6 separate regions of the Homo sapiens genome follow, and regions 1, 2, 3, 4 and 5 are each linked to region 6. Evidence: promoter capture Hi-C in 16 types of primary human blood cells and fetal thymus (Javierre and others, 2016). All regions are on one chromosome and are shown on one strand. The core of a region is centred on a gene start or on the middle of the fragment in contact, and the rest is flanking DNA. Distances in the headings are between cores, read along the strand shown.

Region 1 (3,667 bases), core at 433-2,932, 1.0 Mb before region 6:
AAAATGATTATTATCATGACTTTTAAATTAGCAAAGTTACTTTTCCAAGAGCATTTTCTTTTCTATATCCCAGCTAGCATTTTCAAGAAATTTCAGAATTAAGTCAGCAAGAGAAAAGAGAGATAGCTATCTTTATTTTTTTCGATCTTATTCCAGGTTAGAGACTCAATTGTTTCTTAAAATAAAATACAAACTTATCTTTTGTTTTCAGCAAAGGGACACTTACATGAGATACGTAGATTAAAAGATTTTCATTGCTCCTATATGTTGCGTTTAGGCCAATTTTGTTACTGAGGGAAAGTATTGAACTAGTTCTTCCTGTTGCCATACCCGGCTCTAATTTCCAACTGCAGCTTCTTCATATAATTATTTTAACCTGATTTTTTTTTTACCTGAAATTGAAATATTAAGCAAAGATACCACAAACAAAGTCAAAAGCAAACAACTAGGAAGAATATCTGCAGCATATATTATGGACAAAATATTAGTATCGAGTTAGTAAGGTAAAGACAAATACACCAATATAGAAATGGGCAAAGAATATGAATAGGCAATTCACAGAAGAAATGCAAATATTCAGTCCATAATTAAAAGTTGCTCTATTTCGTTAGTAATCAAAGAAGTGGAAATGTAAAATGTAATGAGATTTTTTTTTTACCTATCAGACTGACAAGATTAAAATGAATAAAAATGGCTAGTATTAGTGTGGAATTAGGAAATGGAATTCTCAAGAAGTAGTTGAAAGGAACATAAACCTCATGTAGCATTTTAACAACGTTCATTGAGAGCTTTCAAATGTTAGTACTTAATGATACAATTTTACTTTAGAAATACATTTGTAAGAAAAAAATCTGACAATTGTGCAGAGTTAATATGTAAAAGGTCTGACACAAAAGAACTCTGAAGGATCATAAATCTCTGTGGTTAAGAGAGTAGACAAATATATTGCTTAACATCCATAAAAGAGAGTGCTATATATTCATTAAAAAGGAAGAAGTGGAGGCATATCTCTAAAATATACATTTAAGAGAAAAAACAGATGCCAAAAATGGTATGGTCTGGTATGATATATCTTTATTTTATAAGAAAAACAGAAAAAAATGGCTGAGAATAAGAGTACATTTATTTGCTAGTATATATACTTCTGTACTATTTGATATTTTAACAGTATGTCCTACTTTTATAATAGAAGACAAAAGCATTTCTACCTTGGAAAAAAGTATTGGGAAACTGTTGTGTTTCTGTGTGTGTGTGTGTGTGTGTGTGTGTGTGTGTGTGTCTGTGCGCACACATATCACAGGCAAATAAAGGAATCAATGTTTGCAAGGCAGAAAAGTACCATGATGTCCATGATGTCCAAGAATACATGGAAATGATGGGTACAGAAGAATGTAGAGGACTGTTAATGGCCATAAGAGCTCAGGAACTTAAAAGCTAGTGTCGGATGGTTCATACACAGAGAACTCGTAGCCGAGTCCTTAATGTATACTGAGGAATGACTTGGAGGTTGACAAAGAAGGTATAGGCAATAGCATTCCCAAATACTTGAAGTTTCGAAAGCTTCAGGGGATGCCTGCTTGCTATGGAGACCATCCCTTTCTTCATATTAGAGCCTCTGTCAATACAGAAGTTCACACCACAAGTTTTTCAGAATATAGTAACCAAGGCTTTCTGTTAACTCAAACTTGCCTTGGCCAATCAGTCTTCTTCATTTCTCCCTCCTATACCATCAGCCCTATATCTCTAATGTCCTTCAGGTCATCTCATCTCGGATATCCCACCAAAATGCCAAACATAACATGGATAAAGCTTATCAACATCCTCTCCAAACAAACGATCCTTTCCCACTTATCTCTCATTACATTCTCCTTATCTGCTTGGTCCGTGCTGTCCATTGTGGGGGCTACCAGCCACGTGTGGTTTTTGGGCACTTGGAATGTGGCTAGTCTGCATGGAGGTATGCTATAAGCAAAAAATAAACCCCAGATTTGGAAGACTTAATATGAAAAAAAGAATGTAAAATATAACATTAAATGATGATATTTTGGATATATTGTGTTAAATAAAATATATTATTGATATAATTTTATTTCTTTCTTTTACCTTTTAAATAGGGGTACCAGAAAGCTCATAATTACATATGTGGATTGCATAATTACATATGTGGATTGCATATTCCATTATAGTCATGTGAAGGCTACTCTAGACTGTGCAACCATGAGGTTATCCTTTTCCTGTTCTTGGGGTTTCATATGAAATCAATCAACAGGTGGTGACACCACCTCCTGGTCTTTTATCTGTCCTCTTCATGTCCTGACCACTGGGCTGGATAAGTCCTCTGCTTTGTAACAGCACCGACTGTACCTGGCTGCTTCCATCTCCTTTCCACTCCAGTCTCAACTCAGCTGCCAATGAGCAAACTCGATAACCTGAATAACTGAGAGCCAACCCCATTCAAACGCCCCTTGAGATAAAGAAGAAAACAAATAACCAAATAAACTCCCTGAATAACTGCACTGTATATAAAGAACCAATGTGCTAGAAACTGAGGAACCAGCCATTCACTTAATTTTATAGGCTACCCTTAATATCAACAAACGCCTCTCACCAACAAATGAAATACTCCTTAAGAAAGAAACAGGATGCCCTTTATAAGCACAGGTGGAAGGAAATGCAGCCTCTGACCGTCCAAACCACAAACAGACACACACAAATTCTCTTTGCAGTTTTGTTTCAGTTCAATCTTAAAGACATTCAGGGTCCTGGCCTCCTTTTGAGAAGGGTTAGGTATAGCATAAGCACAGTTCTGGTCCTGGACTCTCAGCTTTGGGGATCATGACTTGACAAAAAATTTCCATAAAGTCCAAATTCTTCCTCATGCAGCGAAATAGCCAATGGTAAGAAGGTAACAATGGAAATAGCCATTCAATAGATTAGATCTTGGAGATGACTAGGAATGACTGAAGGTAAAGATAATCTTTATCAATTTTAATTCTCTTCATCCATTCCTGCCTGTCCCATGGCAGCATCCAGCAGATGTGAGGGGCACACGTGGGCTCAAGCAGAGGCTGGACACCCTTTGCAAGACAGAGCACCTCCTCTCCAGCCAGCACTGCTTCACTTCTTCTGAAGGGTTGACCAGTCGTCCTGCAGCCCTGCCCTGCTGCTTAAGTAGAGGCTAAAAGTTGGTATAGTCTGTGCAAAGAACCTACACACAGGAGCCTCTAGTTCCTGGTGGAAACACTGACCTATGACCACTTCAGAAAGAAAGACAAGCCTCTCAACCAGGCTATCAGGAATGATTCTCTGTTGGGTCCCCAACTGATGACTATAGAATAACAAGATCATTTTGATAGGTTATAAATCCAAACTGATCTCATTTTCATTTTCAGACTCACACCTCATAAATGTGTCCTTCTTGACTGGTTGAACGTGCCAATTTGGAGAGCAAGGTTGTCACCGTGGCAGTAGATCTTCTTTCTAATCATAAATACCAAGTGCATTTAGCACCATGCAGAACTCCAGAAGAGAATGTCAATGGATTCCCTTTGCTGTATCCTTAACATGAATTTCTGCACACACACACACACACACACACACACACACACACACGAACACTCCAAATTTCCACAGATGTGAAGTTAGGCAAAAATGGAGGCCCAGGTCA
Region 2 (3,405 bases), core at 819-3,318, 1.4 Mb before region 6:
ATTGAGAGAAAAACAAATTGGAAATTACTAGCTTGTCAGAAAAAGCGCAACAAAAGGCAAAATACAGAATAAAGACCAAACTCATCTCCGACTCCTAATTACTGAAGGACAGTGACACCGAGTTCACTACTCATTCCCCACTCTCTGTATATAAAGTTTCCTTCACTTTATTGCTCTACTAATCAGTTTTTACCCCAGCCAATGATATTCTTAAATTATAGATATGGTCAACATTTAGTGGGCCTATCTGTTGAAGAAAATATGAAAAATGTGTAGTTAGTGATGGCTACTAATGAATATGTATAGACTGCCCAAAGTGATAATTTTGCCAAGTCTGTTGATTATCAGAAATGATTTTTTTCTTTAATCAACAATATGCTATCTAATAAATTGATTCTATTTACTTTCCTCATCTCCAGGGCAGTGATCTCTCTCACCTCCTTTAAATAGTCATGAGCCCCACAACTACCTTTCAGCCCAGGACAGAGGGGCACACACGACAGTGGTCTATGAGACTATAATACATATTTTTACTCTACCTTTTCTACATTTAGATGCGCAAATACCATTGTGTTCAGATTGCCTCTAGTATTCAGTACGGTAACATGCTGTTCAGGTTTGTAGCCTAGGAGCACTAGCCTCTACCTGATAGTCTAGGTGTGTAGTAGGCTGTAGCATCCAGGTTTGTGTAAGCACACTCTACAATATTCACACAAGGAAGAAGTCGCCTAATGACTCATTTCTCAGTAGGCGACTGTCCTGAAGAGATGCATGACTCTAATTAAATGCTACCTTCTCAATGAAATCGATTCTGATCACCCTATTTAAATTCACAACTGGAGACCCATTCCACTTCCCAAGCCTTATCCTATTTTTCTATACCAGGCATCGAATTACGAATATATAAAAATTATTTGTATATATAAATTATATATACATCAATTATGCATACGTATATCCACACACACATATTTACTGCGTCTGCTCTGCTAGAATTAAGCTCCAGAGGGAAGATTTTGTGGACTGATATATCTCACACATCTAGAAAAGCGCCAGGGACAGGGCAGACGCTAGGACTCCACGAATTAATGATTCCATCAGAATTTGAAATCAAACTGTAAAGCAATCCCTTCATTTCCCAGAGCTTTGCTGCTCAAACATACACACCCCTTCCCCTTGAACGCCCAACAGGCTGGGCGCTGCCAAACAGAACTCCTGGAAGGCGGCGCCCAAAAGCAGACCCTAGGAGTGGGCGGGCACCAACTCCCCGCCCCAGCACGCACCTCCCTCCAACTTTAGCGCCCGGGATTCCCAGGAATTCGTCTCTTCTGGGCTAAGCCCCGCCACCGCGGCCGAGCAGGGCGGGCCCGGACCTTCGACCCACGCTCCGGGCAGATGCCGGTGGCCTTGGAGGACCCGCCCTCCGGCCTGCCGGGCCTTTCCTCGGGGAGGCTGTAGCTGAGATCCCCGCCCCGCCGTCCAACCCCGCGAGACGAGCCCCCTCTCCTCTCCCGCCCGGGCCTCACCTCTCCTGCAGGAAACGAGTGCAGGCGCCGGGCCGTGGTACTGGGGAAGGGCGCCGGCGGCAGCGGCGACGCCCGGTGAGCACCTCCACGCGCTGCTGCGCCCGGCCGGGGGTGCGGCATACCCGAGGCGCGAGCGCTCCCAGTCCCCGAGCTGCCGGCGCGGGGCTGCGGCGGCCAAGCGCGGGGAGGGCACTAGCAGGAGGAGGAGCAGCGGTGAGGCACGTGACACGCCGCCGCGGGCCGCCGGGGCGCGAGGGCGCAGCGCCCCCAGACCGTCGGAGAGCGCAGAGAGGCAGCGGCGTGCTGAGGTTTCGCTGCCGCCCGGTCTTCCGCTGAGGCCCACGGGCAAGAAGAGAAGCCGCTGGCGGCCGGGCAGGCGCTGGGTCCTCTGGCCGCCGACCGAGCCGCAGTCCATCCCCGAGCAGTTCACTGGCCCGGGCGCGCGCTCATGCCTCTCGCTTTTGGCGCCGGCCACGCGCGGTCCAGGCCCAGAGTCCGACAGCGGGAGCGAGCGTGGGCCACAGCGCAGGACCGCCCTTTCCTGCCGGGCGCGCGGGCGGGGCTCGGGACGCGCGCCGGGGGTGGGGTGGGGCGGGGCGGCAGGAGCCCGCCGTGGCGCTCCGAGATGCGGGGACCGTGCGAGCCCCCACCCCATTCGCTAGGCGACGGCGGCGACCGGGAGGAGCCTGCGGGCACTCCGGAACTGGAAGGAGCTTGTTGCTGTCACGATTTGCATTTTCACTGCACTGCTGTCCTTAAAAAGGAATTACCCCGGTGCCCTTCAGAGTCCTGTGAAAAGTCTCAGACCGACAGGCTGCCCTAGATTTCACTGATTATCCTAAGTCCCCAAACATGTGGTTCTGGGGAGCATTTTAAGGAATTATTAGCAGGGCCCAGGGAAAGGCCCTCACATAATACATTCAAAACTAAATTTTCAGAGTTTTTGTTTCCAGATTAGAGCACCAAAAACATGGGAAGGTAGCAATCTGGGAACTTAAAACGTGGGGCATGAATGTTAAAATGAGACCTGTCGGGTATATTTGAAACTGGTAATGTTTAGTTTCGTGGACTTTTTGAAGGCCTGTTACACCATTCACAGATAACTGGTCCCTTATGTGAATTTGGAAGATGTTAGTTGAATAAATAAATGAAATGCATAAGGCACCAAGCTAGGAGATTTTATTAAAAATAAAAAACCGCAAAACAAATTGTTCTTATCCTCCAGAAGCTGTTTTCCTATACAGCCATATGTGTACACATACGTGATGGAAGAATGTGTTATGAGCCATGAGAGATGTACAAAGTGCTGGGAAGAGAGGAGCGTGCATATGGATGTGCAAGATAAGTGTCTATCAAAATTTGAAGAACTGAAAAACAGGATTCAAGTCATAGGTTGGTGCAAAAGTAGTTGCGGCTTTTGCCATTGCAAGTAATGGCAAAAACCGCAATTACTTTTGCACCAACCTAAGACACTTTTGTAAAAGGAGTATACATTTATAAAATTGGTAGAAAAAGCAGTTTAGCAATGAGTATCAACAAAAATTTGTAAACTTTTCTCAAGTCACCTAACTAAAAATGGGGATAATGGGAATAATCCAAAATATTAAATATCTACTAGGTTTGACTATACAAACTTGTCATTTTTATGGGTCAAAATGCTTAATATTGGTAATTTCACATATGCACAAAAGATAGTCATTGTATCATAATTTGTGATTGTGAAAAAATGGGAAAATAGTGCACAACATTAGAGGAACGATTAAACTGTGGCACAAACTTTAATGTTAGTCCTTTGTAATTTTTAAAAATTGAGGTATAATTTGCATACAGTAAATTCCACAGACTTAGGTGACATTTAGCAGTTGATAAATGTCATTTA
Region 3 (3,795 bases), core at 1,142-3,641, 1.0 Mb before region 6:
CTGAAGATCCCATTGTGCTAGCCAATGGAGGGATGACTTCTATTTGCAGCTCTAAGGGAGTCAAGGTGAAAACCTGAATAAGTAAAAAAAATCTTATCTTCTTCCTAGATAAACTCTCAGGCAGTTCAGTATTGTGAAACAGTTGGGCGCAACTTGGGAGCTGGGAAAGACTAGGTTTAAATGTCAGATTTGCCACTTACTCACTGTGTGACCTTGGTTAAGTTTCAAAACCCAGTTTCCTTATCTGAAAAATGGGGGAAATAGTAATGCATACATCATAGGGTTCTTATGAGGAGTAACTGATAAAGCAAAGTGCTTGTCTCAAAAAATATTGGCTACTATTATTGTTAAGCTTTGTGATATGGACTATGACCCAGTTCGACCTCGTTTGTCTTTCAGATGAAAAAACTGGGCCTCAGAAATGTGATGTTCTGTTCAGCTGCCACACAGCTATAGATAATGATATTTAAAATGAGCTTCTTGGCCTCTGAAACTCAGCTCAAGGCTTTTCTACATCATACTTTGAGTACAACTTACAATGCACCACCCCCACCCCGAACTTCCCGCCACCAAGCTTGAAAAATAATTAAGTATAAAACATGATGTGTATTTTTTGAAGCATTTCTGGCATAATCTTGTTTTATATTTATTGCCTACAACTTTGGACTCTATGACACTGGATATGTGCAAGTGTGTGCTTAATAATTGTCGGCTAACCGAATGACACTAAAGTTAAAGAGGATGATTGACTAGAAGTTAACATTGTGTACAATTTGTTTTCCCAAGAACAGACATAGTTAAGAATAGCAAGTCTCTATGATGTATTTATTTATTTTTACCTTAAATGTTCTGCTATTCCTAAGAACAGCAAAGATTAAAGGAAAAAACAAAAGCCAGTGTGGTGACAGTGAAAGTGTATCCACTTGCTTGGATATTAGGATTACCCCAGATGATGCAGATAGTCTCGTGGGATTAGAGGTCAGAGAGAAGGCAGATCATATGCAGCAGCTGGACACCATATTGTTGACCACTTGGAATAAAATCCCTTCTGTCTTGCCCTTATACACAAATTTATACCAATTACTCAGGTCCAAAGTTGACTTCCGATTCTAGCCTTAACAGACAAGTGCTGAGCCTATCAAGTTTTATTGCAGTCAATACATCTCCCTTCCAGAAGCAACTGGTCACAGCCATTTCCAACAGAAAGCTGCCTGGGCCACCCTTTCTTCTTTTTATAGTTTGTTTCCAGACACTCAGTGACCCATAAAGTTAACTTATAACCAAGTCACAGCCATGACCAGAGCTGTTGTTCTTGTGTCCACCCCTAAAGTTGCCTTTTCCCAGGATGTGCACACTCAGAGGCAATGAATCATACTGTTTGTCCTTTGTGGGGTCATTCCTTTTGGTTGAACCCCAGGTCCTGGGTCCTTAACCCAGACTGTTTCCTTTAAACATTCTCCAAACTCTGGGGTTTTTAAGATTTTGTAGTTTGCCCTTATGAACGTGTATATTGCATGAACCCTGTCTTAATGGAGATGTGCCTCCTGCGTGGTGAGCTGGGGTCAAGGCGTGCTGTGGGCTTGAACCATCTGTGCAAACATAACAATGATTGAGTTGATATTTCTATTTTGATGTCCTGGTGGTGTCACTTACAACCTAATTTGTCTTCTCACCCTTCATTCCCTCTGGGGTGAGGATATATATATTGAAGAAAGGTTGATAAAGCAAGTCAGCCTGTAGGCTGAGTTGGAATTGAATTATTTAAGGAAGGCCATGAGGGCACAGGCTCCCGCAATGCTCATGTGCATGACTGTGATTACTAAGTCACCCAACCTCTTAATTTTCTGGATTTAGGTAGGTTAATAAGATTCCTTGATCAAGCTAACTAGTTATGGAACTAGTTAAAAGCAGGACCAAGGTTGGAACTAATATCTTCTCATCCCCATTGTGTTTTTCTCATTACACCATACGTGTTCCATCAACATCTTTTTTCCTCCCTGTGGCAGAGAGATTGGCTTTACAAATAGGGAGGGAGTGATGAAAGATATTTTGGTTTTAGCTTGCGACTATCTCCTATAACATAATTAAATAAATGAAGAAAGAAAACGGGTTAAATCTCATCATAGAAATATACAATGTTAGGAAATTTTGATTTATAGAATTTTAGAAATGGAAGGTACTTTAAAACAATCACCTAGCACAGTGAGTTTCCAACTGTGTTCAGTGAAACCCCAGGGTTCTGCACAGATGCCTCAAGGCCTTTAAAAGGTAGGAGAAGAGAGTATATAGGACTCAGAGCTTTCTGCCTCAGGGCCATTAAAGCAAGTCTGTCTTTATCTGTTTTATATGTTGGGGTTTTATGTTGGATTTTGTTATAAATGGGGAATCACTTCTAAGGAAAATTTGCAAGCTGTAAATCTAGGTCAAACCCCTCAATTTACAGATGAGAAAACTGAGGCCTGGAATCTTGAACCTGTGGAGTTGCCAAGTAAGACTCTTTATTCCATTCTAGGGATTAGGAAACTAAGATTCCAAGATTCAGATCTTAAAGTTTTGTAGAAAGTTATGGATTTTGTCAAGTGGCAGAGCCAGGGCTGAAGCTAGCTGTATGTTTTTTTTTCATTCCTAGTGCATGACTTTTCCCAACATATCATGTTATTTAACAATATCCAACATATGGTGATCTTACTGCTCCATGATCAAAGAAGTCAGAGAGAATGAAGGTCCTAGAGGCAGGAGTTTGAGGGAGCCGATTAAGAGAGAATAGTCCACTAGTGTGGGGGAGGTGACTATGGAAACAGGGTGATTTATTTTCATTTCCTTTCTTCACGGTTCCATTTCATTCTGCAAATTCCCTGCTGCAATGCTGTATCCCCAGTATCTAAGCCCAGGCCTGGCAATTAGAGCACAATACATATTTGTGGATTCAGACTTTCAAATGCACGTCCTTGTGACATCCTTCAAACAGTGTACTGGTCAGGAACTCAAGAGTATGGTACATTTAAAAATCAAATACTATATCAAATTTGGAGAAGCATAACCATTAAGGTAGTGTATTTCAACACTGGTAGGTGCACAAAGCCTGCTCTCTAAAAGAAGCAAGTGGCCGGGTGCGGTGGCTCATGCCTGTAATCCCAGCACTTTGGGAGACGGAGGCGGGTAGATTACTGGAGATCCGAGTTCAAGACCAGCTTGGCCAACATGGTGAAACTTCGTCTCTACTGAAAATACAAAATTAGCCAGGCATGCTGGTGGGCACCTGTAATCCCAGCTACTCGGGAGGCTGAGGCAGGAGAAGCACTTGAACCTGGGAGGCGGAGGTTGCAGTAGGCCAAGATTGCACCATTGCACTCCAACCTGAGCAAAAAGAGCGAAACTCCATCTCAAAAAAAAGGAAGTAAGGGAAGTAAGTAACTCAGCTGGCAGGGTCTGAATCAGAGTGGATCACTTTCTCTGAGCTGCCCTGGCACAGCCCAATTGTACCTATGTCTCAGGCATGGTCCCCAGTGTCAGCAGACACACTGATCCTGGTGGAGGGAAGTGCACATCGTGCAAGGCATTCCCATAAGCCACCGGACAGGTGTTCAACTGCCCTCTGGGTAGCCTGACCCTGAATGAGTTTAAATAGAAACAAATAAAACCTAGGATCAGAAGGTTCTTATATTGTACTTAAAGTGGTTAGCATTTGTAGTAGGTTATCAAAGAATATTGTACAACATCTTTCCCTAGGGAACTTTAAGAATAGGATGGCTAGATCCTGCAGTCTGAGATATTTTTGTCTCTATAATAACACCT
Region 4 (3,679 bases), core at 848-3,347, 1.1 Mb before region 6:
AAAAAGGTCTTAAAACAATTCCATTCCATTACTTTCAGAAGCTTATACCGAGTTTACAGTTTTGACAGTGTAATTGTCTGTCCCTGAGCCTATGGCCCCTTTTGCTAAAGAGCAGAAGGAAAAATCTTATCTTGACCAAAAAGTAAACAATATCAGGCAATAGTAGAAGGAAAGATAAATATTTGGGATAGATAAATGTTGGTTTGATTCAGCTAGGACCATAGCTTTGGGTTATTAAAAGAGCCTCAAGTGGATAAAATTTGGCCCTAAATTTTGTAGTGAGGTTAGCACTACCCTATGGGAAATGCAAAACACTTTTCGCTTATTTTGGTTTTGGAAAATGTCATAGGAAACACATTTAAAGTCCATTAAATGCGATTGGAGTTGACAAGATTCATTCTGGTGAAAGGCTGGGTAAAGCCAGAACTAAAAGTTTCCCATCAGCTCAGACAACCTTAGCTAGTAGTTGATAATATGTGTTAAATTAGTCAAAATGGAGACAAAACTAGTGACCCCCTTGAGAACCAAAATAGCTCCTTAATGAAAGAAATGGAGTTTAAAAATTAAATAGAATATTGGCTGATGTACATTTTGGAGATTATAAATTTGCAAAATCCCCTTATGTCGTTATTAGTTGAAGTTGAAATTGCCAAATGGGCCCCTGGAGATGTGATAGGAAGGCACATGTTGGAAGATCTGAAATCTTGCTCCCTCTCTGAAGGAAGGGTGGCTCAAGCCATGTGCAGCGTGAGCTGGAGGCTGGATAGGGTCGAGTAAACTTTGGGTTGGTTTTCTCACAGTTTTTGTTAATGCGTGTTGAGTGTTGTCTTTCTTTCTCTCCAATTTTCAGACATGGGGCCCTTGGGAGCAGTAATCCTCCAGCCAGGCTTTCTGAGAAGGTTCACATCCAAGTAAAACATGAATTTTCTGAGCCAATTTGATAGGCAATTCGTCTGAACAGAGCTCTTGTTTTGCCAACAGATAGAAATGAAGCTGAGAGTATTACAATACCCAGGGCAGGGAGAGTATTAAAGCTGTGACAGAGACTGAGGCAGGCAACTTCACATAAGCAGAGGGTAGGGAGGCGTGAGGATGGGAAACCACCTTCCCGGGAGTTGACAGGCGGCTGATGGCGGCTCTTTCATTACAACCTCACCACCAATCATTAAAGGATTTAGGAATTATAGCAAAGTGGTACTTTTATCCGTGAGATTTAGGCGCTTCTCCATGTCATCTCTTCTGTACCCCCAGCACCTAGAACATACAGTAGGCTCTCAATACTGGGTACTATTGAGTGTTGGAAAGAGCACAGGTATGGTTTAGCACAGCCCCTCCATTGCCATTTATAAGCTGAGAGGCCCTGGGTCCATTACTTAATTTCACAAAATGTTTTTCAATTTTTTTCTTCTGTAAAATGGAATTATCGTTTCTACCTAGTAGGGCTGTTTGGAGGATTAAACAATACAAAGAAGGTAAAATGCCTATCATAGTCACTCAATAAGTATTTCTTATTTTCCTGATTACAAATTAAATAAATGATTGATAATCATCAAAATGCATTTGTATAATGTGCTAGGTGCTGTCCTAAGTGGCTAGAGGTTGATACTATTGCTATCCTCACTTAATAGATGGAAAATACAGTTTTAGAGATGAAAAATAACCTAGAGGGAATGGCACATGGGACCTGTGGCTGAGAAGAGGCCCTAGGAATTCTGTGGCTGCCAGAAGTGAGACCTAGGAGTGGACGTGGGCTATTGGGCTTCCTCCTTGACCGGATCCAGGCCTTCCTTGCATCTTGGACAGTCCGTCTCACAGAATTTGGGACTGTGCAGAGTGAGAATCCAATGAGCTGCCTGAAACTGGTGCTCACCAAGAATTTATGGAAGTTTTTATTGCTATTTCCAACTGAGAACTTTTCTTCAATCATTTATGGAAAACATAAAAGCCAGTGGGAATCAACTAGGATAAAACAAGGTCAGAACCACTCTTCCAGATGCTGAGCACAGCTGGTTTTTGCTTAAGCAGTGGAAGCAAGAAAGAAGGATATCCATTGGCTATTTGGGTCAGAAACAGCACCTTAAAATATCTCCTCCATAATTCATCTCGTCCCAAATAGAATGTGGGGTCAAATTGCAGACCCTAAACCTTTTCATCCCTTCTCCTCTTCCTTCTCTTCTTCTTCCTTTTTCTTCTTCTTTTTCTTATCTCATGGGATTGGTATGAAAAATAATAAGGATTTTATTCCACAATGGAAAAAAAAATATCTCTCTGGGGTGGTAGATACCGCAATTCCAGAAACAAGCTGGAATGCACCAAGAGCTCCCTTATATGCCTAAATGCAGGCTGCTCTTCCTCTGCCTCTATTTTACAGCTGGGGGAGCCATTGCCCTGGGAACAAAGAGGAAAATGGGAACAATCCTAATTTTAATATTCATAACTCATGAGCAGTCTGAAAGTTTTTTTAATAAGTTCACGATTGTCCTTTGAACTTTTAATACTCCTTTTACCCAAGGGGCTTTGGAGGGGTTTGAGAAGAGCCAACCAGCCAAGATCACCCTCCCACTCCATGACCTGTAGATAGCACCCTGCCTGGGAACTCGACAGAGAGAAAGCATCTGTCCATCCCACACTGGCTATCTCCAGGAGTCCAGAAGAGCATGACTCTTGCTCCCAGGAACAGATCTCAGGCTGCCAGTAATCCATGTGTAACTGCAGAAAGGAACACTGGTGGGGGGTTAATACCAGATTGGCACATTCACATGTTTGGCATTCTCATATGCTGTTCATAACACAAATCCACCAATCCTCCTTTTGGGGATACACCCTGGAATGGCTGGAAGAGACAGACTGGGGCCCACTGCTCTGAAGCCTTGTATGGTGGTGGTGTGCCTGGGAGGAGGTAGCAGGCACCATCTTCCTGATAGGAAGCCACCTGGACTGATCCCAGGGTCCCTGCCTCCTGAAAGCAGGGGAGAAAACCTGGGTTTGTACTCTGATTGTCAGTGTGCCCAAGAGTCTAGAAGAGATTTCAGTGAGATGGAAGAATGATTATTTAAATGATACAAGCATTTGCTTTTAAAGTTGGAGAGAAGGAAAGCGTAGAATTTAAAATGCCCTTGAGTCTGCCCATGGGAAAGAGTTTAGGGAGTGACACTGAGGAGAACGGAAGGCTTTTAGGGGAGGACCAAAGACTATTAGAGTTCTTTTTGGGAATGGTAATGAGCTATCGAAAAAGTGATGCCTGAGAAGAAAAAGCAAGAGGGGAGCAGTCTGTGATAGAAAGGTAAATGAGTCATTTGATGAGTAGAGTGCATCTCAATCTTCAGTGTGCATTAGAGTCAGGGGAAGGCAGGAAGGTAACTATAAAGCGCCTTTCCCTAGGACCTCTTGAGGCTCCAATGCAGTGGGTCTGGGCCATGGTTTGATCACGACGTGGGCACTCCGCAAAGCACGCCTTGAAATACACTAAATGGGATAGCTAAAGACAGGGCGTAGAATCAAGAAACCCAGGAAAATTCCTAGTAGGTGCCTAGAATGAGTGGAGGGAGATGGTTGAAAGAGCAGCTGCCGAGGTGGTAGGTCCCTGTCTTATAAGGACAGGTTGCAGGGTACAGGAGAGGCTGAAGAGTCCCAGGGTGGACTGAGGACAGTGTGGAATGCCTGGGAGGCTGGGGTGTGG
Region 5 (3,957 bases), core at 1,388-3,887, 1.6 Mb before region 6:
ACAACAGGAACTCACACAAAGAAGGAAGAGAACAGTACCAACAAGGTAGAACATCACGATGAGAAGAAAGAATGATGCAAATATGTGGACCCCCAGGATAAACACAGCTGCCCAAAATTTAGCTCTGGCCCCCTTAGATGGGGGAAGTCAACAGTGAAGTGTTTCTCAGCATCATAAAGGCAGAAGCTGTGGTTCCTGTGGGGCCTGCCAACCGTTCCCAGATGCTGAACTCTGCTGGGAGTTTTTTCCATGGGACTTTAAAAAATGATGCCCTTAGGTTGGGCCAGACCTCTGTTAACTTCAGTAGGGATGGCACCAGGTTCAAGAGGCCAAAGAAGAGACCTGGAGCTAGTGAAGGAAACATAGGGTTTATTTGGGGAACCTTACAGGGTGGTCCAGTGGCCGCGGGCTGGACAGAACTGCAACCACTTATAAAAAGCATGCAGTTTACATAGCACTTTCACTCAGCACCCTCCCCTCAGCAGCCTCCACGTGGCAACCCTCACTTCTTAAGTTATTGCTGTCAGATGCATCTGCCATACAGGGTCATTCTCAGGGGATGCTTAAGTTATTTCTGTCAGGTACATCTTCCATACACTTTACTACCTTGGAGTAAAGTAGTAAGAATACAGCTTTTTCCTTAACCTTTACCAGCTAACTCAGTGCTTAGGGGCCTTGGAATGCCTGCTGTCCAGCAGGTGTCACAGGCCTGACTGGGAGGCATGGCCATTATCAACAGTGTATGAAGGTCACATATGGCTCCCTGAAGTGATTACATACTTGGACCACATCACCTCAGCCCCTTGCAAAATTGCATTTAATGTTACACCCTTGGCTTTTGTAGAAACAGGCAACAAGACACTATCATATAAAACTTTGTACTGCATTGCAAGGCATAACCTTTAATAAATCCCAGTGGTCCTTTGTGTAGGGAACGGGGATGCTCATAGCCTATGGGGCGGCTGGAGAACCAGTCAGGGACCCTGAGGGCTCGATGTACACTTTACATGGGTGGGCCAAGGAGTTTACACTGAGGGCACTGGTAATACCTGTAATAGTCTTATAGTACTTATAAAGCAGTTTTGCACATAAAATACCATCATGCACTTATAAGTTTGTTCTTGGGCTGCTCCAAGTTAACTTTATTCATTTTCCTAGTGTTAGTGTCTCAGGGAGTCTGATTATATTTTTGATTTGTAATTTCTATCTGACTAAGGCCTAGAGATTTCAAAACTGTTCTTTGCAATTCCTCTCATACTGAACCTCTGGTTCAGCAGCTTTTTTTGTTGTTGTTGTTTTCAAGTTTTATCATTTTTGTTCCTATTTGGTTTTGTCGTTTTTAAATTGAGAATTGCTTCTAAAACAGAAGACATGAAAAGAGAATTAAAAATACAATATATGTGTAAGATAGAATTATTCAACTTAGCATTTATTAAACATCTACCAGATGATAGACATTAGAAATAAAATGACTAGCAAGACCTGGCCCTTCCCCTCAGGGGTTCACAGAATGGCTGGAGCAACTGTCATATAAGCTGTTATGAAGTGCAGAAACTACACAGACATTTGTGCGGGTTCAGACCAGCGCAATTAGAGATGGGCAGAGTGGGATGGGGTAGGGGTAAGGTGCTTGAAATTTGCCTGGGTGGGAATTTTTGAAGTATAAAAAGGACTTCTACCTGGGGGGCTGCGGCAGTAGAGGGAAGAGCACGGTCGGTACAAATGCATGGCAGGTGTGAAACAGTTTGATTTGTTCAAAGAATGATGAATCACTTAGTGTTGTATAATGGATGGGAGGAGAGAAACACAGCGATCACAAAGGGCCATGTTTGCCAAGAAATAAAATATACTTGGAAAAAAAGTACGTATGTGTATATACCACAAAACTCGGGTGCATTCTCTAGGGACCGGCGAAGCCATTCTTTCAGGAGATATGCTCAGCATTTGCCACGGGCCAGCTGCTGTTCCAGGTCGTGGGTTAGGGCCCGGCACCAGGAAGGGCGCCCCTCCCACAGGGCCGACATCCTAACCGGCGTCGCTGCGGCCGCGGAGCTGGGAAGGCCGAGGGCGCCGGGCACGTCTGTGCAGATTTCTTTAGAGTCCAGGTCTGTCGCCCGCGTCTTCGTCGGTGGCAGCAGGGCTGACTGGCCACGGCGGCCATCTGCTAGAGCGCATTTCTTCCCATGAAACGCCACCTCCTCCGAAGTGCGGAGCGAACGCAGCCAAATCTACACAAAGACTGACAAGCTGGATCCACTCGACGGAACCCAGGGCCAAAAAACGGCGGCGAGCAGCGCCTCGGGCCCGCGATTACCGGTTTTCTGAGCACCGGACAGCGTGAGCCGTGCCAGCCCTGTCTCGCCATCCCAGCCGAGGAGGGCAGCGCGATGGCTCTTCCCTGCCTTGAAATCAACCCCATTGCCAGCCGCTTTCGCCGGCAGAGCATTTTCCGTGGGGTCCATCCGGCTCCAAGGCGGCCTGCGCTGGCCACGTGGAAAGAAACACGCCCACTGCCTACAGGCCACGCCCTTCCTCCCTTCGCGCATGCGCCCCACCCGTCCTGAGGACCTCCGAACCTGCAGGGGGCGATGAAAGTAGGCTTGCGCTCCGCTTGTAGCTGCTTCCGGGTCAGAGGTCAGACGGTCTAGCGCTGCGTGGGCCATGGTGCAGCTCCGACCGCGAGCGTCTCGCGCCCCGGCGTCGGCGGAGGCGATGGTGGACGAGGGCCAGCTGGCCTCGGAGGAGGAGGAGGCGGAGCACGGGCTGTTGCTCGGGCAGCCCAGCAGCGGCGCGGCCGCCGAGCCCCTGGAGGAAGACGAGGAAGGGGACGATGAGTTTGACGATGAGGCCCCGGAGGAGCTGACTTTCGCCAGCGCCCAGGCGGAAGCGAGAGAAGAGGAGCGGCGAGTGCGGGAGACCGTGCGCAGGTTCGGAGCCCGCTGCCCGGCGGGGAGAACCGCCCTTTCTCGTCCCGCTTGTCCTTCCCTTTGCTGACTTATCACCCTTCCTCCCAGGGATAAAACGCTCCTGAAGGAGAAGAGGAAGCGACGCGAGGAGCTGTTCATCGAACAGAAGGTTAGAGGCTAGGGAGGAGGTGTCTTATTAAAACAACTCGGCTCAGGGAGAATTCCTATGGTGGATGTAATTTGGGTTGGCAGGATATTGGAGTGGGGAAACAGTCACCAAGATTGCCTCTGACAGTGGTGGAAAGATGCTCGGGCCGGGCGCGGCAGTACTTTAGTTGGACGAGGTGGGCGGAGCCCGGGATGTCGAGGCTGCCTGGAGCCGAGATCACACCACTGCGCTCCAGCCTGGGCGACAGAGCGAGACCCTGTCTCAAAAAAAAAAAGTTCGTCTCCTTTAGTGTCCACCAACTGAAAATAAGAGGTTGCTGTGAGAATTAAATGAGGTGATTTGTAAACTGTAAGGGCTGTACAGACTTAGTGTATGGTTGCTTTGCTGTCTGATACTCGACACAGAGAGCTGGCTCCAGGCAGACATTACTTAACTGCTTTCAATTTATAACAGTGACCTGAGGGTTAGAATACCGTGGGCACCCTTTCTAGTTTTCATCAAGTCTTTCAGAGAATGTGGAGTTTTGTGGACCCGGTCTTCCCATAGCTTAGAGGTATGGGGGCAGTTTCCAGCCTAATTCATTTCTTTGCCTAGATGTAGGGCATTCTTAAAAGCGGTAACTTCAGAAGCAACTCCGGACATACTATGTACATGACTTTCTATTAATTTTAAACGTTTTCATTCCAAAAGAAAAGAAAACTCCTTCCAGACACTATTTTGGAGAAGTTAACCACAGCTTCACAGACTAAGTAAGTAATGGATCTTTTTATATTACTTGCTTATATACACCCATCTTTGAATTATATACTGGTACATTTATTTGAATCCATATAACTGAAGGAATTGTAGAACCCAAATTCAAAAGCTACCTTGGTATATGAA
Region 6 (3,630 bases), core at 19-2,518:
CCGGGCGTGGGGGGGCGTGGCCTTTCCACTCGGCGACCCCCGGCCACCGCCCACCCCGCGCGTGGGGGCGTGCGCGACTGCGGGGCGCGGAGAGGGGTGACCTCGGACTACCCTAGGCGCCCGCAGCACGCTCTGTACACAGACGCGAGGCGCTGTCCTGAGGTGACACCGGCTGCACGGCACAAGCAGCAGGCGCCGCCGATCAACTAGTTCGCACCGAGGATTCCTCTTGGTGCGTGGCCCAGTTTTCCTTAGGACGGGCTCCAACCCCTCCCTGACACCGCCCCCCTCACCGCCACGCTCCGAGGCCTTCCCCGGGGAAGCCTCGCGTCCCTCCCCCGCGGCTCCGGGCCGCACGCGCGCGATTCCTCGATTCCACAGGCGGTTCGCGCCGCGGGTGGGGGCGGGGCGCGCGGGGAGGGGGCTGGCGGCCGCCAGGGGAGGGGGGCCGGGGCCCGGGGGGCGGAGGAGGGCCGGCGTGGGGAGTTCCTCGCTCGCGGACCACACGCTCCGCGGGCCAATCCCGAGCCAGCCTCTAGCAGTGTCGCACGCGGGACACGTCCAAGCGTTTGTTGGCACGGCCAGTGAGGGGGAGGGGGCGAGGAGGAGGGAGGGGAGTTGAGTGACAGGCTTTGCGGGGCAGGCTGGGAATTGTAGTTCCCAGCTTCCGTGGCCATAGCCATTTTGTAGTCGGGGGACTACAACTTCCAGAAGATCAAGGGGACCATTCTAAGGTGCCCCGGGAATAGGCGGCTCTCCCCGGGGCCGGGCGTCCTGGGGCACTCCTACCCAGCAGCCCGGCTGCAGGTAGACGCGAAGGCAGTGGCGGGGGCTGGCGTGGGGCGGCCGTGGGGTGAGCGGCAGGCAGGGGAAAGGGGGTGAGGTGGAGCGACGGAGCGTGCCATGCATTGAGCTAGGGAGCCTCTCTCAATTCCACGCCTGGGCTCGGCGTGGGAGCGACGCCCGAGGGCTTGCCTGGGAGGGGTTCGTCGAGGTCGCTCGGGTGTCTGGTTGGCCAGGCTGCGGGGGTGCCCTGGACTGGGCCAGGGGCGGTCGGCACCAGGCTAAGCGGGCGCCTGGCGGCTGAGCGGTGGGAGTTTTCGGCTGGCGCCCGGCGGGGAATTATCCGAGGAGCCCTAACTTGTATAAAAGCAGAGTCCATTTAAAGTTGGGCTGGATAGCCTCTCTCTCATTGGTTAGGGGGCTTGGAAAAAAGAGACTCGGCGAGCCCTCGCTGTGGTGCTGCCGCCGCCGCCGCCGCCGCCGCTGGAGTTGACTCTTCTGCTCGCACTGCTGCTGCAGCACAAACGTGACTTCCAACATTTTTTATTTATCTTTCCCTTTTCTTTTCCAAGATGTAACTACGGATCAGACACTAAGGACCTTCACGTTTCGCTGATGTAGTTTTTGGAGGAAAAAGGGGGGGGAGTGAAGGGCGTCGGTTTTTTTTTGTGTGTGTGTGTATGTGTTTCGGGGGAAATTTTCCATTATGAGTGTTTTACTAAAGTGAATTTTTTTTTGTTTGCTTCGTTCGTCTTTGGCTCTTTTTTTTTCCTTCCCAATTTCGGATTTATTTCAAGGCGAATCTGGCTTTGGGGGAAGAGGAAGAAAAGTCGGATTACAAGATCAACCACCACCAACAACAATAAAAACCACCAGGATATTTTTTTGCAAATTTCTGACGGCTTTAAATTCATGAAGCAATTGTCCCCTTTTGCAATCAGCATTTGGATCTCAGAATGAGCAAGGAAAGACCCAAGAGGAATATCATTCAGAAGAAATACGTAAGTGCTCCTAACAACACATCCTTTGACTTGCAGTTTTAAGCAATGGCTGTGAATGTCAAGTTTATAGATAATTCTGCCTCTGAAGGGTTTTAAACACAGCGTCCGATAAGGCTGTTTCTTTTTTTTCTGAAAGAGGGCTTTTCAAGCAAAGTGGTGTCTGCCTAGTTTGGTTGAAAAAACAGACTGGTGTAGAGATACCTCAAGTGAATAAATTGACCTCGAATGACACAACCATAATCTACTTTTAGATGAAAGGCAAGGGATTTTGGTGGAGCTTGAGGTGGGGGGTGGCTGCGGTAATGTAACTAAACTGCATTCTCAAGCGGATTTGGCCCCGTATTGCACTTTGCATGCAAATGAGCCTGTGTTATTATTATTAATGTTATTTGGAAAAATCGTGTAACGCATGTGTGTTGGAAGCCCTTTAAGTTGCGATCGAGGGTCCGATTATGGCGATCTTCTCTTTGCACTGGCACATCAAATTTAATGTCTGTGGTCGTTTTGGCTTATCTGGTTTGCAACATAAACCAGTTGGGAATCATGTTACAGCGAATGCATTTGTTGGGATTGACTTTAATAATGAGGCTGGTTTTGTTTAAAAAATTCATGGTTTCCAGTTGTAGGGGAAAAGGACACACACTATGGCTAATGTTTTTAAGTGTGTACGTGAATGCATATGTAAGTAACTACAAATAATTTCTCCCTGTTAACTGGGCTTCTGAAATTGGGTGATTATTCCTAGATTTAAATGGCTTGGAATAGTTAAATTTGTTTTGTGCATAGTACAGCTACGTTTTGATTGGCATGGGGAGTGTTTTTGTTTTGTGTGTGGTGGCTTTTTTTTTTTTTTAAGTTTGAGGGGAGGGAGGAAAGGGGGACCGAGGGATTAACCAAATATGCACTCGAGTGATCTGTGATTAGCTGCATGCTTTAAATTAAATAACTCTTTTTTTTTTTCAAAAAAGGCCAAATGAACATACCTTAGGAATAATGCAACGTAAGAGGAAAGTTTATTTAAGTTGGGTAGACAAATTGGTGTTAATATTTTCCCTTTTTGATCATTGTGGTGTGTGTAATGAGAGATGACCTTCGGGGCACTGGTTTTGTAAAAAAATATATTTAATGGAAAAGCTGAATGCCTCTTCAAGAGAGCTGATCCTTATCTAGACACGTCAACTTCAACTATGAAAGAAATGCAAGGTTAAATAATCAAGCCCAACTTAGAAAGCTGTTCCATAAAGAATTTAAGAATTAAAATACATCCGCATTGCAGAGGGCTGGGTAGAATGCAAAGGACTAGTTTAAACTCGGGCTGTAGAAACTGCACTGAGGCAACCTTGTCTTGGAGCGTGGACGCCTTCCCGGGGCACGTCCGTTTCGGATGCAGCCACAAAGCAAATGGGGTAGAACTTGGACGAGAACCGCACCCCGCCTCCCATTCCGGACCTCGTTGAGGTGGAGAGCAGCGTGGGGTGGGTTTTCTTTCTTATTGCGGGCGTTCAGCGGATCGTGTCTCCGAGTCCGGGCGTCCGGCTGCAAGCCCGTGGCTGGCGGCGGCTGCGGGAGGCACGGCACGAGTTAATGCACCGGGAGCAGAGCCGGTGTTCCCGACGTCCTCGAGCCGGCTGCGAAAGGGACGGCCCGCGGGGGTCGCGGCAGGCTGGGCCGGGGCTGGGCGGGCGGGCGCGCGCGCGCGGCCTATAGGGGGCATACTCCGGGCTCTAGGCGGGCGCGCGAGGCGGGCACCGGTCTACCCGGGCCGGCTTGCAGGCGGGCAGGAGGGCGGGTGGGGCGCGGGGGTGGCGCGGCCTGCGGGGCGCGGGGAGGGGAGAGCGCGCGGGGA

Evidence for each region. The method cuts DNA at HindIII sites, captures the fragments that hold promoters and counts their contacts. A CHiCAGO score of 5 or more calls a contact.
Region 1: a contact is called between a fragment that was not itself captured here and the fragment with the promoter of JARID2 in region 6, in 1 of 17 cell types (naive B cells). The highest score is 5.7, in naive B cells.
Region 2: the fragment with the promoter of MCUR1 here is called in contact with the fragment with the promoter of JARID2 in region 6 in 2 of 17 cell types (non-activated CD4 T cells and naive CD8 T cells); the score reaches 6.1 in non-activated CD4 T cells.
Region 3: a contact is called between a fragment that was not itself captured here and the fragment with the promoter of JARID2 in region 6, in 16 of 17 cell types (fetal thymus, naive CD4 T cells, naive CD8 T cells and 13 more). The highest score is 31.8, in fetal thymus.
Region 4: a contact is called between a fragment that was not itself captured here and the fragment with the promoter of JARID2 in region 6, in 1 of 17 cell types (fetal thymus). The highest score is 6.0, in fetal thymus.
Region 5: the fragment with the promoter of NOL7 here is called in contact with the fragment with the promoter of JARID2 in region 6 in 1 of 17 cell types (naive CD8 T cells); the score reaches 7.6 in naive CD8 T cells.

Annotation. Positions count from the first base shown.
Region 1 is chr6:14,238,750-14,242,416 of GRCh38, forward strand. No RefSeq gene overlaps it. Among named protein-coding and RNA genes, the nearest start is that of LINC01108, 45 kb to the right of the region's middle. RefSeq lists an enhancer at 2,738-2,807. The HindIII fragment of the contact is 249 bases long and covers 1,559-1,807 here.
Region 2 is chr6:13,812,489-13,815,893 of GRCh38, forward strand. MCUR1 (mitochondrial calcium uniporter regulator 1) reads right to left here and starts at 2,069. Exons shown (of 9, transcript NM_001031713.4): 1 at 1,527-2,069. The coding sequence starts at 1,941. It overlaps LOC107986571 (a long non-coding RNA gene), which reads left to right and starts at 1,322. Exons shown (of 2, transcript XR_001743986.3): 1 at 1,322-1,601. RefSeq lists silencers at 1,257-1,926, 2,007-2,276 and an enhancer at 2,437-2,536. The HindIII fragment of the contact is 5,544 bases long and covers 1-3,405 here.
Region 3 is chr6:14,206,391-14,210,185 of GRCh38, forward strand. No RefSeq gene overlaps it. Among named protein-coding and RNA genes, the nearest start is that of LINC01108, 77 kb to the right of the region's middle. RefSeq lists a silencer at 3,445-3,494. The HindIII fragment of the contact is 3,639 bases long and covers 573-3,795 here.
Region 4 is chr6:14,190,011-14,193,689 of GRCh38, forward strand. No RefSeq gene overlaps it. Among named protein-coding and RNA genes, the nearest start is that of CD83, 74 kb to the left of the region's middle. The HindIII fragment of the contact is 4,117 bases long and covers 40-3,679 here.
Region 5 is chr6:13,612,698-13,616,654 of GRCh38, forward strand. NOL7 (nucleolar protein 7) reads left to right here and starts at 2,638. Exons shown (of 8, transcript NM_016167.5): 1 at 2,638-2,927; 2 at 3,015-3,075; 3 at 3,766-3,824. The coding sequence starts at 2,662. SIRT5 (sirtuin 5) reads left to right here. Exons shown (of 10, transcript NM_012241.5): 10 at 1-2,461. It overlaps LOC124901263 (a long non-coding RNA gene), which reads right to left and starts at 2,505. Exons shown (of 2, transcript XR_007059461.1): 1 at 1-2,505. RefSeq lists an enhancer at 1,851-2,020. The HindIII fragment of the contact is 25,604 bases long and covers 1-3,957 here.
Region 6 is chr6:15,244,801-15,248,430 of GRCh38, forward strand. It overlaps JARID2 (jumonji and AT-rich interaction domain containing 2), which reads left to right and starts at 1,269. Exons shown (of 18, transcript NM_004973.4): 1 at 1,269-1,784. The coding sequence starts at 1,740. JARID2-DT (JARID2 divergent transcript) reads right to left here and starts at 574. Exons shown (of 1, transcript NR_187237.1): 1 at 1-574. It overlaps JARID2-AS1 (JARID2 antisense RNA 1), which reads right to left. Exons shown (of 2, transcript NR_120502.1): 2 at 3,015-3,344. RefSeq lists silencers at 1-206, 217-476, 3,462-3,521 and enhancers at 1,087-1,136, 1,247-1,346. The HindIII fragment of the contact is 5,356 bases long and covers 1-3,630 here.